Regions from separate parts of the Homo sapiens genome. Here region 1 is linked to region 2. The links are contacts of gene promoters, found by promoter capture Hi-C in human tissues and cell types (Jung and others, 2019). All regions are on one chromosome and are shown on one strand. The core of a region is centred on a gene start or on the middle of the fragment in contact, and the rest is flanking DNA. Distances in the headings are between cores, read along the strand shown. Region 1 has its middle 76 kb from the start of DOCK10. Region 2 holds the start of NYAP2 (neuronal tyrosine-phosphorylated phosphoinositide-3-kinase adaptor 2).

What was found. Contacts are between HindIII fragments. The study calls those that stand out against the background at their distance.
Region 1: a contact is called between a fragment that was not itself captured here and the fragment with the promoter of NYAP2 in region 2, in 1 of the 25 tissues and cell types used here (H1 embryonic stem cells).

Annotation. Positions count from the first base shown.
Region 1 is chr2:225,116,417-225,119,682 of GRCh38, reverse strand. No RefSeq gene overlaps it. Among named protein-coding and RNA genes, the nearest start is that of DOCK10, 76 kb to the right of the region's middle. The HindIII fragment of the contact is 3,722 bases long and covers 1-3,266 here.
Region 2 is chr2:225,398,358-225,401,353 of GRCh38, reverse strand. It overlaps NYAP2 (neuronal tyrosine-phosphorylated phosphoinositide-3-kinase adaptor 2), which reads right to left and starts at 1,644. Exons shown (of 8, transcript NM_001371273.1): 1 at 1,099-1,644; 2 at 311-793. The HindIII fragment of the contact is 4,626 bases long and covers 1-2,996 here.

The DNA of each region.
Region 1 (3,266 bases), core at 549-3,048, 280 kb after region 2:
TAAATCTGATCAGGCTGCTCCTTCACACACACACCATTCCTCTTCTCCTCTCTGAATAGGGAATCATCTTTCACAGAGAGGGGGATCTGGCAAGCTTTTTAATATTAAAAAAACTTAAATACTTTCCATGTGTCTTAAAATACTCACCAGGGGAGGCAAAAATAATCATTCTCTCCTCTTTCTATTGTTATTCACTCAGGAGAAATATTTCCTGCTGAGAATAATCTTAACAGGTGATCAAAAACACGAGTGGTTTCTCTAAGTTGGATTGTACTGAATAGAGAATAGGAGATAGAGGCTCTGCAGTTCCAGACATTAGAAAACCAATCAAGAGAAACTAGCCAGGTTCTACGATCAAGGGAAGGGGCATGGGCCAAATTAGCCATACACCTGCCTGATCTGCAGACTTCTAAGTGTTTATAAACATATCTCAAAATATATAGCATGAGTCATAGGTCAATTTGTTGTTTCTCTCTTTCTTTTTTTACACTTTATTTCTTCTATCCCATTAGAAAACCTTCCCTCTTAATTAGGTAATCAGAACCTGCAAACAAAAGTTTAGTGGTTCACCCAGGCATAGTGGTTCACTACGCATTTTGGGAGGCCGAGGCAGTTGCAGATCACATGAGGCCAGGAGCTTCAGACTAGGCTGGCCAATATGGTGAAACCCCATCTCTACTAAAAAATACAAAAATTAGCTCAGCATGGTGGCATGCACCCGTAATCCTGGCTAATCAGGAGGCTGAGACATGAGAACCATTTGAACTCAGGAGGCAGAGGTTGCAGTAAGCTGAGATTGCGCCACTGCACTCCAGCCTGGGTGACAGGGCAAGACTCTGCCTCAGAAAAAAAAAAAAAAAAAGAAACCTGCAAAACACAAAAGTTTGGTGGCTCTAAAATAGCTTTGAGTATTTGAATTGAATTAAGCCTCTAAAATGAAGAAGGAATTTTTCACTGAAAACTATGTTCTCTTCCCTGTCTGAATAGGTACAGTAAATATACATATATACAGCTATATATATATGTATATATATTTTTATATACATATATTTATATATACATAAATATATATATTTTTATATACATATATTTATATATACAAATATATATATATTTTTATATACATATATTTATATATACATAAATATATATATATATATATGTCGCCCAGGCTGTAGTGCAGTGGTGTGATCTTGGCTCACTGCAAGCTCTGCCTCCCGGGTTCACACCATTCTCCTGCCTCAGCCTCCCAAGTAGCTGGTACTACAGGCGCCCGCTACCAAGCCCGGCTAATTTTTTGTATTTTTTAGTGGAGACGGGGTCTCACCATGTTAGCCAGGATGGTCTCAATCTCCTGACCTCGTGATCCACCCACCTCGGCCTCCCAAAGTGCTGGGATTACAGGCGTGAGCCACCATGCTCAGCCTAAGTAGAGTAACAATATTAAAAACAGCTAACATCATTGATGTGGGGAAATTTCTAAGCACTTCACATGTATAAGCTTATTTAATCTTCACAGAAACACTTTATCATAGGTACTATGATAGACTAAGACTTTACTCTGAACAGCTCCTCACCATACAGTCTGTCCTGTGAGCAGAACATGACCCCAAAGTGGGAGGATGAATGTTTCAATTTGTGAATAGCAGTGATTGGATTATGAGTCCATTTCTGGGTTTAACTTGATTCTGTAAAATATTGCTATTTTCTGTAGATCTGTTTGCAGGCAGTTTACTTATACCTATGTGCCATTGAGTCTTTCTCTAACAAGTGAAAACAAAATCACCCAGCATTAGAAAAGAGTCAAAGCCATTTGTGTTATGATTTCAGCTACTTAGACTTGCTATTTTAAAAAGTGATATGTATTCCCTGCATGCATCCTACACAGTATTCATGCTGTTCAAGATTACAAATTCAGAATGGAGATTTCCCACTTGAAATCACAGAAATGGATTTTACTTGTAATATTAGTGCCATGAAAAATAATTATGCTTCATCCAATGCTATAAATTTCTATCATGCTCCCTCTCCTTAATATGTAGTGAATTTCACTAGGACAAAATATGCTTTTATCACACAGTGCACTGTGACTACATGTCGATCCTGTCCGCAGTTGTCCACTTTCCTCAACCCTAACTCAAGATGAAGTCATATATTACTGACTGCCAAGGGTGCTCTCCAAATAAAGTGTGTGGCTTGGCACTCACAGCTAGTTGAAACTGATGCCAGTGCACTTCTTACAGAATATCAGGACTCACTAAACAATTGTTTTGGGGAAAAAAAATTTCACAGAGCCCTTCTTGCTCATATATGTAGTCTGCATTTGCCAAGGGTAAAAGCATTCTCTTCCAACTGATGATTTGGTGCACCACAAAAGGGAAATACCTGCTGGTATGCACAGGTGACTGTTGTCACCATTCCACTGCACACTGCCCAACAGGGCCATTTTCTCTCTAAGCATATTTGATATTTGTTGTTAACTTTGAAGGCAGTTGTATCAGCTTCCAGGCAATCATGTGACTTGTGCTTGGTTTTGCAAGGAGAAATGAAACCTTAAATGGTGTCACTTGACTTTTTGGCTTCTCTTTCTTAACAAAAATAAGTTAATTAGGTAATTATCATTTTTGGGCTTGATCTGGACAATTTTAATAGATTTGCCAGAGAGGTCACTATGCAGTTTTATGGAACTCATGCCACTGCTTGACCAAGTTCATACCAGAGAGAACAATGGTGATTAGAAGAAATGGAAGGAGTGTGCAAATCCTCCACATTTCAGTAGTTTGCTTTTTCTTTCTCAACTGCTTGTGCAAGGTCTTCACACTTGCATGTTCACTCGTCACAGCAGGCACACATTCACTGGGGTGCTCGTCACTCTGTATATCAGGGGTCCCTAAATCCCTGGCCATGGACTGGCATGGTACAGAAGGGGGTAAGCTGCAGGCCAGTGAACATTACTGCCTGAGCTCTGCCTCCTGTCAGATCAGCAGTGGCATTAGATTCTTGTAGGAGCAAGCAATAAAAGGTGGGTTTCAGAACTAAATGTTGAAAGAGTAGAAGCATTTTTGTTTACGTACTCCTGGAGAATATTTGGAATTAATTAAAGACTGGCCTCTGCAATTAGAAATAAAATAATCCTATACATGTTGGAAGGGAGGAGGCAAATTTCATTATCTGTAGCTGATATCATTGACTAACTAGAGCATTCAGATTAATACTCCAAGGATAAACTTGGCCCGAGCCATGCCTGACCTGAACAAAAGAATCCT
Region 2 (2,996 bases), core at 395-2,894:
TTAATACCCTGGAAAACATTTTCAAAGCTTTAATAATTCAACATGGCTTATTTTACTAATGAAAATCTAGTTTAACCATTTCCATGGTAATGTAACTAAGTGGGTAAGGGAGTAAAAATAGCCTCAGGCTCACTAAAGCCCTGGATGCCTTCACTGTGGCTTTATTTCTGCTCCACCTAATAAGGCATGCAAACTTCAGCATTAAGTATCCCTAACTAAAATCCATTCCATTTTATCACCAGATTGCTTGATCTATTCAGTGCTGGATTCGATTAGCATGCTTAGAGAATCTGAAAAATGAGATACATACCAAAATTTAAGTCCCCAGGGAGAGCTAAGTGCAATAACCAGAAGGTGACTTGTGTCTGTCAGAGCCCTCTCTCACGGTTGATCTCAGGGCAGTTCTGTAGGAGTAATCCAGCACCATAAGAAATAGACTTGTAGTTCAGCTCAGTGTTTCTTCAATTAAAGTGCATTGTGTCTGGATGGGAAAAGTGTCGACTCCCAGATTCTTCATCACTAGATCAGAGCATTCTCGATGTCCTTCCTATCAGATAAAATGGCCTTTAAAGTTTGCTAGGAAGATGCAGTGGCGGAAGACAGGTGCTTGCTTCCTTAAATCGACATTCGGAGAAAAGAGGGCATAGCTAATGGGTGGGGATGAACACACAGCCCCTCTCCTTCCAGGTCCAGCAGGGAAGAAATTGAATGATTTTACCCACTTTGCTACACAGATGATTACAGGACCAGAAGCAATCACCAAGCTGGCTAATGTACCTCATTTGATTATATTCTGCGAAGACAAAAATAAATGAAAACAAAAAATCAGAAACATCCTTTCTAAATGTCTCCTTTCAGCCAAAAAGATGCTCTTTCTCATTGCCACTTACATACAGAAGGTTTGGAGCAGCCCAGCTTGTGGCATAGTCCCTCCCCCGTGACAACCAGCTCTCTCTCTCTCATTCTCTCTCCCTCCACTCCCTCCCTCCCTCCCTGCCCCTGACTCCCTCCCTTCCTGCTTCTCTTTCTCCTCTCCAGCTGCCTTAGTCTGTTGAAGCTGCTGCTGATTAATCAGGGATTCTGAAACAAAGAACCTACCTTCTGAAATAAGCAGTAATCTTTCTTCTCTGTTTCTGCAATCCGTCTGCATTGAACGGCAAGGCTGCCAGCGTTCTAGCACCTTGGATAGTTCCTGCTCACTAGGCCCATTGGAAAAGGGAGAAGCAACTGAAGAAATTGCAAGAAACCGGAAAGCGGCATCGTTCTACTTTGGATTTCGGCTCCCTGGGGGCTCCCATCCTCATTAAAGGCCTCACATCTAGGCAACAGAACCTCTCTCTTTTATCTAACTGAGCTGAAGTCTGATTAGTAAATAATAAAAGGAAAAGAGGGTAAAGAAACACCCTTCATTTATATTCACTATAGCACTAATTCAGTCTTTATGGAGAGGAAAAATATAAATCCATTGAAAACAAATGTTCTTACTACAGAGAATGGTTAAGTTATAAGCATTTCACCCCTGGCGTGGCTAATGAAAATGAACAACAACTTAAATGGAACATCTAGATCTCAGTTTGATACCCTTATTTGATATCAATTTTGCCTCCACCCTCCCTGCACAGCCGAGCCATGCACACAATTACTGCTGACGTACTTCAGGCTGCTGCTTGGGGAGAGAGGGGAGGAGCCTTTTAACCTCATCAAAACAGCTTCATGCCACCTGCTCCCATGGCATGAGAACAAAACTAGTCCACTTAGAAAGAATATGCACAGCACACACGTGTGTGGAACAAAGGTCTTACTCGGACTGCACATTTTTTTAACTAAAATAAGATGCAAAATAATTATGATATGTATGTCATTAATTCCTATAGACTCATTGTTAAAATTAAAGTCATTCTATTTCTGATATTTCCCAAAGACTCTCCTCATTCTGTTCTTAATACTCTACTGAATATATACATATATATCACATTATATACCACAACTTATATATGTGTGTTTGTGTGTATTTGTATTTATTAAGCTCAAAGTTTTTCTCATACTGGCTCCTCCTCAGTAAAAACTAAAATGTACATGTTTTAATCTATTAATTTTGCACTATGATAAAAGGAATAATATATAATATGTTTCTGATGGATATGAGCTTAAAAAGCAATTTTGATGGGAGGGGATGTGCTTATTACTTGATAGTGACCTATAGATTTTTCCCCTCACATTCTTTTTCAGTAACTCACTGTAAATGACCTTCACTTGCAGGTTGGTTTTCCCAAGAGTGTTTTTTAACGTCTATATTCATAACCAAAGTCTTAGAAAATAGTTTTCTGAATTTAGTTTTTAATGCATTGACAGACCACAAAAATAAACAAGTTCACCTGTCTAATTCTTAAATGTCACCTGAGACTGTGCTGTAATTTTCTTAAATTATATTTCTTTAACTTGTAAGTATCTGGGGAAAAATAAAATCAACACATTACATTACTATAAAGCTTTTCTATTTTACATGTCCTGAAGTGCATTCCTGAAGCTCATCACTTATTTCTTGGTCTTTGTGTATCTAGCTTTTGGTTAGAACAGGACATCTGTTTAATTTTAAGAAGGATTCTGCAAGATTAGATAGATGAAAAGGAGGAGAAATACAAACGGGGAAGAGAAGAGGCCAGACCTCTCTCATATTCTCTTCCCCCTATCCCAATGCTCTCCCTTTCCCTCTCTCTCTCTCTCTCTCTGCCTTATGAAGGTTCTAAATACTTAGCACATTGCTGAAAAGTGCCTCAAGCACCACTTATAAACTAGTAACAGCCACCACACTGTGATCAAGAGGTTTACTAATGTGCCATTATTTTGGTAGTGAAGTGTTCTCATAGATGTTGTCTTTCAGCACATGACCAAAGGTGGAAAAAGTTCTTTACAAAAAAAAAATTATTGACAGACATTTTAGAAAACGGAAACACTTTATCATGACTGATAATTTTGCCAGTCTGGGGGTCTATATT